Linked DNA regions of Homo sapiens: all the other regions are linked to region 4. The links are contacts of gene promoters, found by promoter capture Hi-C in blood cells and fetal thymus (Javierre and others, 2016). All regions are on one chromosome and are shown on one strand. Each heading gives the region's core, a stretch centred on a gene start or on the middle of the fragment in contact. The rest is flanking DNA. Distances are from core to core; before and after follow the strand shown.

What was found. Contacts are between HindIII fragments. The CHiCAGO score rates a contact against its expected background, and 5 or more counts as called.
Region 1: a fragment that was not itself captured here is called in contact with the fragment with the promoter of SOCS3 in region 4 in 1 of 17 cell types (M2 macrophages); the score reaches 6.6 in M2 macrophages.
Region 2: a contact is called between a fragment that was not itself captured here and the fragment with the promoter of SOCS3 in region 4, in 1 of 17 cell types (monocytes). The highest score is 5.2, in monocytes.
Region 3: a fragment that was not itself captured here is called in contact with the fragment with the promoter of SOCS3 in region 4 in 3 of 17 cell types (M2 macrophages, M0 macrophages and M1 macrophages); the score reaches 6.6 in M2 macrophages.

What each region holds. Positions count from the first base shown.
Region 1 is chr17:78,018,655-78,021,719 of GRCh38, reverse strand. The region is part of intron 3 of TNRC6C (trinucleotide repeat containing adaptor 6C); the gene reads right to left. Among named protein-coding and RNA genes, the nearest start is that of TNRC6C, 61 kb to the right of the region's middle. The HindIII fragment of the contact is 837 bases long and covers 1,285-2,121 here.
Region 2 is chr17:78,679,886-78,682,921 of GRCh38, reverse strand. It overlaps CYTH1 (cytohesin 1), which reads left to right. Exons shown (of 14, transcript NM_004762.6): 12 at 1,880-1,951; 13 at 2,578-2,732. Among named protein-coding and RNA genes, the nearest start is that of SCAT1, 49 kb to the right of the region's middle. The HindIII fragment of the contact is 2,142 bases long and covers 716-2,857 here.
Region 3 is chr17:78,086,373-78,089,132 of GRCh38, reverse strand. TNRC6C (trinucleotide repeat containing adaptor 6C) reads right to left here. Exons shown (of 23, transcript NM_001142640.2): 14 at 2,547-2,630; 15 at 2,040-2,280. Among named protein-coding and RNA genes, the nearest start is that of TMC6, 41 kb to the left of the region's middle. The HindIII fragment of the contact is 4,187 bases long and covers 1-2,760 here.
Region 4 is chr17:78,358,578-78,361,326 of GRCh38, reverse strand. It overlaps SOCS3 (suppressor of cytokine signaling 3), which reads left to right and starts at 1,250. Exons shown (of 2, transcript NM_003955.5): 1 at 1,250-1,577; 2 at 2,144-2,749. The coding sequence starts at 2,232. SOCS3-DT (SOCS3 divergent transcript) reads right to left here and starts at 879. Exons shown (of 5, transcript NR_110847.1): 1 at 554-879. RefSeq lists silencers at 349-398, 629-828, 889-1,198, 1,209-1,488, 1,899-2,138 and an enhancer at 1,246-1,894. The HindIII fragment of the contact is 6,903 bases long and covers 1-2,749 here.

The sequences.
Region 1 (3,065 bases), core at 454-2,953, 340 kb after region 4:
CATACCCCTGTAATTCCAGCTACTTGGGAGGCTGAGGCAGAATAATGACTTGAGCCAGGGAGGCAGAGGTTGCAGTGAGCCGAGACTGCGCCATCGCACTCCAGCCTGGGTGACAGAGTGAGACTCTATCTCAAGAAAATAAAAATAAAAAAATAAATAACCTATTCCATGTCTCCTCTCCATAATCTTTTTTATGATTACTGAATGAAAAGTTAAAATGATGCTATTTATCAAGAAGAAACAGGAACATATTAAGTATGGAGAAATGAAATCACTCTCTTAGAAACGCAGGTGCTTTTACTTTATAACAGCCTTGAGCTATGAGCACAACAGGACCAGTGAACGAGCACAAGCACATCAGGCTTGTCTGAATGCGTGGCCCACGCCCCTCCTGTGCCCCTCAGAGACGCCTTTGTGCTCTGCTGGCCCTCTCACTGCTAATGGACTTCAAGTCTTTGTACTCATTCTCCAGCCCTGGACTCTCTGGAGAGGTTGTCCATGCTCACCATTCTGACCATCATTTCTGTGCTACTGATGCCTGAGTACTGTCCCAGTGTTGCCCTCGAGCTCCAAGTCCAGCCTCCTTCTTCAGCTACCTACTGGACAGTGCTGCCTGAAGGAAGCTTTCTTTCCTACTAAACACATCCAAAAGTCAAACAAGAATTTCCTGGTCTGAGTCCAGGACTGTGTTGGTTGCCGTAGGAAGGCACTGGAGCACTTAGGTTTCTCACTTAAGTGAATCAACAATGAACTGGGGAAATAAAGAAGACACACAGAGTATTTAAAGCTTGTGCAATTGACTGGAAATCTCAGACAAGTGTAGAGGGGAAGGATGACCATGTGCTGCCCAGTACAGCAGCCACTGGCCAAGTGTGGCTATTGAGCCTTGAGGTCTAAATTGAGATGTACTTAGTATTAAAACATATACTGGATTCTAAAGACTTAGCACCAAAAAAAAGAGAAATACCTCATTAACAATTTTTCTGTTGCTTTCACATTGAAATGGCGATATTTTGGATATATCAAGTTAAACATTATTAAAAGTAATTCCGCCTGTTACTTTTTAGATGATGCAACTAGCCTATTTAAAATGATTCATGTGGCTCACATTTGTGGCTTCCATTATTTCTTTTGAATGGTGCTGGTCTAGAAATGGCATTGTATTATTGGAAAGGATAAAGTTTAAGCTAGTTTCTCAGAAACCGCTAAATAATTACCTGTTTTCATAAAGACTGAAAGTGAAACAGAGATTGAGAAACTACAAGTTGTGACAGATCACAAGCTTTTTCAGGTGGGAGAATTTCCCTTACAACTATTTACTCTACACTAAAGTACTAGCACATTATTTTACAAACAGAAAAAAATGCCACAAAGCATGTATTCAATTAATAAAAAGACCAAGGGTCCCGGAGTATAATGCAAGCATGGCACACTCAGTTTACCCACGTACTTGTTCTCACAGTGATATTTCCAGCTTGCAATGCTAATGCTATGGCTGGTAGTCTACAGGTCATCCTGGACCCTAAGAAAAGGGAAGAGAAGCCTCACTCAGCAAAGCAACAGACAGAGGAATGCGGAATTCTGACCCAGTTGAGCTGTACACCTCTGGGTCTCTTTTATATTATGCAGTGATAAACCTTCTGACTTAAGCCAGTAATTTTTGGATCTTTGAATCAAGCAGCCACTTAATAATCTGAAGGGATAAGTGGAAGATCTCAAAATCTGGATCTATTCTTGTAACACAGATAAATTAAATGGGCATTTTCTTTTTTTGTCTAGCCATAAACTCTTTTCAGATCCTCACTTATGGGTCTATTACTGTCTAAAAAACCAGGGCATCAAAGCAATCTTGACATTCCCCTTCTTCAAAAAGACCTGACTCTAGGGCCATACCTCACAGATAAGGACTCACATGGGAACCTACCCTTTTGCATATCAGCATTTTCATGCAGCAGGAGAATACAGGAAGGCAATGGGAACTTTAGTTTCTTTATGATTTTTCAACAAATCATTTGTTTTATTTAAGAAATATTAAGATAGCAACCATTTAATAACTACATATATAATTTTAAAAAACTTTCAGCAAGATGGAAATTTTGGTTACTCTTTGCCTAGTAAGCTTTTGCCTTTTGTTTTTTAAATGAGGGTGACATCTGCTGGTGAAAAGGTAGATGGTAACTCTTTATATAAGAAAGCAACAGTCTTTTAAAACAATTTTCTTTCCAAGGATTTTCTGCTTTCAGCTAAAATTTTCAGGTAGTGTTGTCATAACAGGGCCAAATAGAGAGATTCCCACATTTTGCTTTTTCTAAAATGACAGGCTACAGTATGGACACAAAGTTCAGGCTGCTGTCCCTTCAGACTTTGGAGAACTTGATTTTGAAAGAGCTCCTTTTCAGACTTTTCTACTACATTGTCATCTCTAAGATACCAAGACAGAAGGAACTTGCCTTGCTGACCCAGCCTCGTTAGCCTCCAGTCTACCCTTGCTAGGGTCTGAGCCTTTTCAAGTCCTGGCTGCAACCCCATTCTCTCTGCTTCTTTCCTAGCCATTTTAGTTGGCTTGAGTCTCATCATGCTCAGTCACTTCAATATCGTCATCTGTAACAGCCGAGGCCCCCGACCTTCCTTCCTTTCACTATGCTTGCTATCCATACTTCTGTATCATCCCAACCTTCAGTCATTTCCAGACCGCCTGACACTGCCACATGTAGTCTCAGAAACAGCAATGAGCTCTGTTACCTACTAACACTAGCATAAGCACCTGCTGCCACCAAGAATTCCTCTTACTAACCTAACATGGACTGCCAAAACCCCCCTCTTGTAACTGCTTAAAACTTTTCCTGCACTCTGGAATCCTGATGCCATCCAGCTTCTCTCAATCTATGGCCTGGATTTCTAGTTTATAGAGACAGTACTCACTCATTCAATAAATACAGAGGTTTTCTACAGCTCAGCCTCCTCTAGGCTGGGGCTGTATCAAGGAACAAAAGAGAGATCCCTGGCCCTGTGGAGCTCACATCTTAGTAGAGAAAAAGGATCAATAATAAACTTGATGTGTAAGT
Region 2 (3,036 bases), core at 537-3,036, 320 kb before region 4:
TTTTTAAACCTCCCCCAAACGATGGATGTGTTTCCAGGTTGGAAGGCTTACTGAATACCCTGCATGATGACTGAAAATGAATGCACGCCAAGGCTGCCTCCTTAGGGGGCCTCAGAACACTGAGGACACAGAGGACGGCAGTCGTGTGCAAAGCACCAGCAACCAGAACAGCTTTGTGTAGGGTGATATTGAATGCTGAAGGCAGGAATGCTGGGCTTCCCAGTCTTGGAGGAGGGTCACGTCCAGCCTAGACTGTTAGGCACAGCCAGATAGCAGCCAGGTGTGAGGGTCCAATAGAAACATTCTTAGCCAAGTGAGATTTCAGAAATGTTACCACCCACACACCCTTTCTCAGGATGCTGGTGGAGGACAAAGGCCTTGGCTGTAGGAAACCAGAGATCTTGAAACCTCTTGTTTCAAGAGAGGAGGGAAGAGTGCTCTGGAATGGAGAGTGCTGAGGTTAAGGATGAAGCAGTTTACCGAGTATCAAGGCAACCAGTCCAGACTGGAACAGGTTTCAGAGGCTCCAGGAAGGATTACTTCAAGAAATGAAAATTAATAGGATGCCTGATACAAATTAGCATTAGCAAGGAGATTTTGATAAGAGGTTAACCATTTGCAATTGGTTTTGGTGGTAAGGTCACAGAAATATAAATCAAAGGAACAACCCACTTCTCCACCCTCCATAATTTTGGTTCCAGTGGGGAAGGAAGCTTTTCAGGAAGGAAAAAATTAGGAAGTTCACTATATGGCACAGGTCGGAAGAGAAACGTGGTGTTAATGAAGACACTGTGTATAGCCCTACCTCAGATGACCAGATAGTTATTTTAGGAGGACGGGGAATATGAATATGCCCGGGTAAGAGGAGCTCAGTCCTCTTCTGTAGATAACATCTAAAATCAAGCAGTCAAAAGGCAGTTCTAATATGGTATTTTGGAGATGTGTGAGATACAGAGGTAAAGACCAAGCAGGTTGGCTTGAAGAAGTTGGAAATAGTTGCTAGCCAGGATGGGGAAATGGCTGAAAGACTCTTTTTCGCTTTTAGAGAACTCATAGAACTGGTTGGTTTTTTTTTTTTTTTTTTGAGACAGAGTCTTGCTCTGTCACCCAGGCTGGAGTGCAGTGGCGCTATCTGGGCCCACTGCAGGCTCCGTCTCCTGGGTTCACACCATTCTCCTGGCCAAATATAAAGACTTTAACAGTGCTAGGACTTGGCCATGGGTTGGCTGGATATCAGGGGACTGTGAAACTGCCGTCAGGCGTGTGCTGGAAGTGTCTGCGGTGCCGTGCCCTCTGTAGATGAGATGGGACTAGTTGGCGGGTGCAGCTCTGTTCTGGACAGGAGTCAAGGTGCCTTTGGAAATCCAGGTGGAGTTGTCAGGATGGCAGTGTCTCTGAGGATTGTACTGTCTGGCGGTGGGGCGATGGACAGAGGCAGTGAGTGGTTAATGGTCAGACCCACAGCTGCAGTCCCAGGCATCGGGGCGCTAGGGTGAAACTAGGAAAGGCTTCCTGGAGTTGTTGCCCCAGAACTGAGGCTTCAGAGGTGAGTGGGAGAGCCAGGCAAAGGGAAGAGGGAAAGGGGCCCGCACACTCCCTGCTTGAGGACCGTGCCCGGGTCACTGCCGGCCACACTCTCACGGTGTCTGTTGAATCTTCTGGTCTTTCTACTCGCGGAGGACTTAGCAGTTATATTGACAATCCTCAGACATTTTTGGTGTTATTCTTGTTTAGAATGTAAGGAGTTCCCTCAGGCTGATTTATGAACTTCATGTCCTGGGAGAAAGCAGGAAAGTTCGGCTGAGTCACCGGCGAGGAATCTGACAGTGTGTGTCCTTAAACTGTGATCTTAAACTTCCTCTCTTCAACTGTTCTGTAGGATAAGGAGCCCCGTGGAATCATCCCTTTAGAGAATCTGAGTATCCGGGAAGTGGAGGACTCCAAAAAACCAGTGAGTATTTTTGCTGAGATATTTTGAGGGGAGAAAGGGGATGGGCATTTCAAAGATTTTTTTTAAAAAACTCAAAACCAAAAAACTGAAAAGCGTGATCAGGCTTTTATTTAGTCTAATTTTTTATTATATTGTTCAAGCCAAAGATGAGACTCGAAATCACTTCTTCCTGTGCCGTCTGTCTGCTTTATCGTTTCACTTAGTGAATGTCACATGGGGTGTAGAAGTTGCCCCTCCTGCAATGGCAGCGGCAAGCACGCAGGAGTGGGCTATGTAGTTTATACCCTTGGGACACCTCCCGTTTAGTTTTCCTTTGTTTTGGGCTGTCAGGATGTTACTGGCTTGAAGTTAAAGTCGTGAGTCACCTGCAGTTCTCTCCGCATTTTACGTACATTGCAAGTGGGGCCAGCTTATATCAGGCCGGTGTGTTTGCAAACGAGACTGACTTCTATACAATTTACAGTCTCTAGAATTCCGCTTCTAGGCTTCACTTTTCCACAGGAAAATATGTATTCCTTGTATTTTGTGAAGGTCAGAAGAAAGGGGTTTTGGGGAAAGAAATCAGCATGTTTCTCAGTTAACAGCTTCCTTTGCTCCACTCTCTCCCTCTCTGTTTTGATTCTCAGAACTGCTTTGAGCTTTATATCCCCGACAATAAAGACCAAGTTATCAAGGCCTGCAAGACCGAGGCTGACGGGCGGGTGGTGGAGGGGAACCACACTGTTTACCGGATCTCAGCTCCGACGCCCGAGGAGAAGGAGGAGTGGATTAAGTGCATTAAGTAAGTGACTGCTGAGAAAGGGCAGTGCGCGCCTGGTGCAGCCCTCACCTCACCAGGTGTTGATCATCTTAGTGGTTAAACATGCCGCCCGCATCTCTTCTGTGCTCCAAGTTCTTAGGGAAGCTTCGTCCTGGTTCCCAGCTGACGGCTTCCCAGGAGGCCTTTGGATTCTTGGCTATTATAGCATATGTAAGAGAGCACGTCCCATCTGGGTTCCCCACGTGTCCTCATAGACCCAAAATAGGAAGAGGCGAGTGAGCTACCCACACAGATGCCATCTGCTCAACTGGTCTTTCTGTGTCTG
Region 3 (2,760 bases), core at 208-2,707, 270 kb after region 4:
AGCCAGGCGTGGTGATGCATGCCTGTAATCCCATCAATTTGGGAGGCTGAGGCAGGAGAATTGCTTGAATCCAGAAGGTGGAGGTTGCAGTGAGCCGAGACTGCGCCATCGCACTCCAGCCTGGGCAACAGAGCAAGACTCTATCTCAAAAAAAAAAAAAAAAAAAAAAAAAAGTAACGATAAGTGTACTTTATCCTCCAAATATAGGTTAAGAAGACAGGTGAATAATAGAAAGCTGAAGCTAATGCATTTTAGGATAATAGGTGGGATGAAATTTGTTTCTAAAACAGAAGCACTTACATAAGTAGCTGACATTTTACAAAGTGTTTGCTATGTGCTAGGCACTATTTAAGAACTTTACATATTAGGCCAGGTGTGATGGCTCATGCCTGTAATCACAGCACTTTGGGAAGCTGAGACCAGCAGGATCACTTAAGGCCAGGAGTTTGAGGCTGCAATGAGCTATGATCACGCCACTGCACTCCAGCCAAAAAAAAAAAGAGAGAGAAAAAAAAAAGAAAAAAGAGAACTTTACATATTAGCTCATTTAATCTTTAAAACAAACCTAGGAGTTAAGTATTTCCACATTACAGATGAAGAAATTAAGGCATGGCTCAGTATGGTGTCTCAGGCCTGTAATCCTAACACTTAGGGAGGATCACTTGAGGCCAGGAGTTTTGAGACTTGCCTGGGCAACATAGAAAGACCCTGTCTCTACCAAAAAAAAAAGAAAGAAAAATAAAGAAATTGAAGCAAACAGCAGCTAGGCAAGTTGCCCAAGTTAGTAGTGAGCCTCTTGGTGGTGAGTTGGGACTCAAACCTAGGGAGTCTAATTCCTAAGTCAGGTCTTACCTACTTCGACACAAAGGGCTCTAATGGATGAGACAATAATTAAGGAACGAGATCATCTAGTCTAGTATTTATCAATCTCATATTAAAGATATACCACATTTATAATATGTCAAGTAAAAAGGATTCATATGATTACAATATACCGCTCTTTTCAGAGACATTGAATAGAATTAGATAAATGAATATTATCTGCTGGCAGCAAATTCACTACCACTCAACTGGCCTTTGCCCCTTTACAGATGTATTTTCCAAGTTACCGATAACCCTTTGTCCTGTATCTACAGACTCTAATAGCAATCAACAGACAAGCCTAAAGTGCTTTCACTAACTTCTGAATTCTTACGGCAAATTAGTCCATGCAGAATCAATTTACTAATTTATACCCTCTGGTGTCTTCAGGTATGTGAGCTGTGTCTCTCCTGACTGGCCTGACCTCGAGGCCTGGCACCATGTCTTCTACTGACCTGCGGGTTTCAAGTGCTGAGTGTGCTTCTACAAGTTAGATTTCAACATATATATGTTGATTTGGTCGATTATACAAATCACATTTCATACAAAATGAGTTGTATCAACAACCACTGCTTTTTAAGAAGTGCTTTTAATGTAAATCTGAATACTTTTACTGACCAAACCATTATAAAGTCTTCTCTGTGGTTTAGGCTGGAGGACAGTGGCTGGTAAAGTACAGTTCAGAGTAGACTAGGAACAGAACAAACTTTGGAGATTTGACAATGGAAATGAGATTTTGGGGGCTCTGACTGGTACTACCTTTAAAGGTTTTATACTGAGAGTATTATTGGCAGCGGCAAAACTCCTGCTCTATACAACGTGGTTAGTGTTGTTCCCTTATTACAAATCCTTGAGGCTGGGCATGGTGGCTCACACCTATAAACCCAGCACTTTAAGAGGCTGAGGTGGGAGGATTGCTTGAGCCCAGGAGTTCAAGACCAGCCTGAGCAACATGGTGAGACCCCCATCTCTCAAAAAAATAATTAAAAAATTTTTTTAAAATTAAAAAGCCTTGAGATACCTGCTCTCCGATTTTGTCTGGGGCTGCATTTCCAACAGGCTATGGTTTCAGCGCTGGCCAGTCCTCCTAACCACTGAAATGCTGCCCTGGCTACCACATACGGACTCCAGGTACCCTCTCTACCTGATGTGGCTGTTGAAGACCATGGGACACTCACCGAGAGGGTAAGGAGCAAAGGTGTTGGGTGAAGACTGCTGCTCTTTGGTCTGCAGGTCAGGTAGGCCGGGAGTCTGTGGGTGCGAGGGGAAGCTGTCCATGGCCGATTTGCCTGCAGAGGGGTGCAGAGACAGGTGCGGCGGGGGCGGTGGCGGTGGTGGCTGCTTCACGAGCAGGGCCTGGGCCAGCTGGCGCTGGTGCTGCTGGATCTGCTGCTGCAGATTAGTGATTGTGCGCGCAACCTGGCAGGCAGAGACATAGGTGCGTTAACTAGGTGGGAAGGGACACTCATGGCTTGTCTAGGGACCAAATGCATTCTTCATTGTCTTTATGCTGAGGCCACTACTGGCTAGGCCAACCTCCTCCCAAACCTAGCTGAACCCAGGAATTTTCAAAGGAAGGCTTGGCTAGAGAAAAATCAATGATCATCTAATAGTTCATCAATTAGCGTCTCTTCTATCAGGGAAAATTATAGCTCATGACAAAAATCAATCTGGGTAGCACCTACTTGCTGCTCCTGTTGTCTCATGGATCCGGACACATTACGCTGGGCCTGTAACATCTGCTGCTGGATTTGTAAACGTTGGTATGCCTGTTGACAGAACGAAGAGTTAAAATAGTATGATAATTAAGTGTAAGTTGAACTAATGGTTCAACTTTCTGACATTAGTTAAAAAATAAAAAAAGAGAACCTAGCCACTCTTCTTGGCCCATACTGTGGC
Region 4 (2,749 bases), core at 1-2,500:
CAAACTATCTACGTCAGTGCCAACGTGACCAGCAGCAAACCAATCTTTCACCTCAATCACTTCCTCTCCTCCCCTCTACCCCCTCCCCGCCAGTGATCAAGTCCTCCCCCACCCCAAGAGAGGCAGGGGGTCACATTCCAGGGGGTGTGGGCCATCTGGCAGTAGCCTGAACCCCGGAAAACTGCTTTCCGGAAATTCTCTCCTGCTAGAATTTTATTCCCAGGTCTGACCCCAGCCTGGGGTGTGAATGCCCCCTTCTCGGCCACCTTTCCAGCTCCGGAGACAGCCATTCCCGCAGATCCCTGGCGTGCCTATTCCAAGGCCTGGGCCGCGCAGCACCAAACTGCCCTCCCCTAGGAGACCCCAGGGCGCCCTCTGGCGGACGCGGGCCGTAGGTTGGGGCCATCGTTCCACCTCGAGCTCTCCAGCCCGGCCGAGAGCACCTGGCCCAACCCACACCGGACCAACCAGGTTTGCAGACCCCAGTGCATGAAAGCGTTTTCATAGGGGAGGGGAGGGGGGCTCCACACTCGCGTCAGGGTTGGCAAAGAACCTGGCAGTGGGCCGAGGCTGGGTAGCTGCCACGAAGGGGCGTCCCCTGCAGCCCTGGGTCTCCCCTCTGGAATCTGCCCGCAGGTGACTGTCGCACGTCTCCAACCTCCGGCTCCCGGGTCTGACCCCAGCCCCGCTGCCTGGCTGTGGGGTAGCCCCACTTCCCTTTCGGCTGGCCCGGGCCGCCTGACCCGCAGTTGGGCCCTCGGGGAGGCCCGGGTGGCGGCGAGGGGGTGTCCCCGCGGGGTCCGGGAAAAGGGGAAGGGGAACCGGGAGGCTCTCCAGGTCGGCCTCCTAGAACTGCCCGCTCTCCCGAAGCGGCGCCCCCGCCTCTGCCAGAAATCAGCCTTCTTAGAAGGGAGGGGGGTGGGGGGAAAGTGTGAATGAGAAGTTGGGGGCGGAGCGCGCGGCGGGGAGGGGCCGCTGCCAGGAACGCGCCGCCGGGGCTGGCGCCGCGCCCACCGGCCGCCTCGGCCGCCTCTCGTCGCGCTTTGTCTCCGCGCGCGTCCCTCCCGGTCCCTGCCCCTGCTCGCGGCCCGCCCTCGGCGCCCGCGGCCCCTCCCTCACCCTCCGCGCTCAGCCTTTCTCTGCTGCGAGTAGTGACTAAACATTACAAGAAGGCCGGCCGCGCAGTTCCAGGAATCGGGGGGCGGGGCGCGGCGGCCGCCTATATACCCGCGAGCGCGGCCTCCGCGGCGGCTCCGACTTGGACTCCCTGCTCCGCTGCTGCCGCTTCGGCCCCGCACGCAGCCAGCCGCCAGCCGCCCGCCCGGCCCAGCTCCCGCCGCGGCCCCTTGCCGCGGTCCCTCTCCTGGTCCCCTCCCGGTTGGTCCGGGGGTGCGCAGGGGGCAGGGCGGGCGCCCAGGGGAAGCTCGAGGGACGCGCGCGCGAAGGCTCCTTTGTGGACTTCACGGCCGCCAACATCTGGGCGCAGCGCGGGCCACCGCTGGCCGTCTCGCCGCCGCGTCGCCTTGGGGACCCGAGGGGGCTCAGCCCCAAGGACGGAGACTTCGATTCGGGACCAGGTAGGAAGGAGGAGCGCGGCGTGGGGAGGGGTCTCGCTCAGTCCCGGGAGCTTTTCCCGGTTTCCCCTCCCCTTCCCGGGTCATTCCCGGCAGGGAGGTGACGAGGTAGGGGCAGAGCGGATGGAAGCCGGAGATCCCAGGTTCCCGGAATACTCCGGCTGGGGCCTTCGGGCTTCTCCTGTCCCCTCCCTACCCCCGTGCCTCGGGTTTCTCCCTCCGTCCACACCGCCCGGGGCTACTGGACTGAGCGGCGCCCAGGCAGTCCCGGGGGCCCTTCTCCTGCTCCCCACCCGGCCACACTCCTGGAGACCTAACTTCCGCGCGCGAGTTTCCCACGCTGCGCCCTTGCAGTGCGCGCCTGGGAAGGGGCTGCCCGGGGCCACCCTGCCGGCAGGGGCGGGAGCCGTGCGGGCTCCGTGAGGCGCCTGGATCGGAGCGCGGGCCCAGGAGAGGGCCCCCGGGGCAGTGGGTGCCCCAGTCGCTCGGCGAAGGCAGGGGAGCCGGGGCGGGCCGGGCGCGCTGGAGGGTTCCGGGCACTCAACGCGCTCGCGCCTTCCTCTCCGCAGCCCCCCGGGATGCGGTAGCGGCCGCTGTGCGGAGGCCGCGAAGCAGCTGCAGCCGCCGCCGCGCAGATCCACGCTGGCTCCGTGCGCCATGGTCACCCACAGCAAGTTTCCCGCCGCCGGGATGAGCCGCCCCCTGGACACCAGCCTGCGCCTCAAGACCTTCAGCTCCAAGAGCGAGTACCAGCTGGTGGTGAACGCAGTGCGCAAGCTGCAGGAGAGCGGCTTCTACTGGAGCGCAGTGACCGGCGGCGAGGCGAACCTGCTGCTCAGTGCCGAGCCCGCCGGCACCTTTCTGATCCGCGACAGCTCGGACCAGCGCCACTTCTTCACGCTCAGCGTCAAGACCCAGTCTGGGACCAAGAACCTGCGCATCCAGTGTGAGGGGGGCAGCTTCTCTCTGCAGAGCGATCCCCGGAGCACGCAGCCCGTGCCCCGCTTCGACTGCGTGCTCAAGCTGGTGCACCACTACATGCCGCCCCCTGGAGCCCCCTCCTTCCCCTCGCCACCTACTGAACCCTCCTCCGAGGTGCCCGAGCAGCCGTCTGCCCAGCCACTCCCTGGGAGTCCCCCCAGAAGAGCCTATTACATCTACTCCGGGGGCGAGAA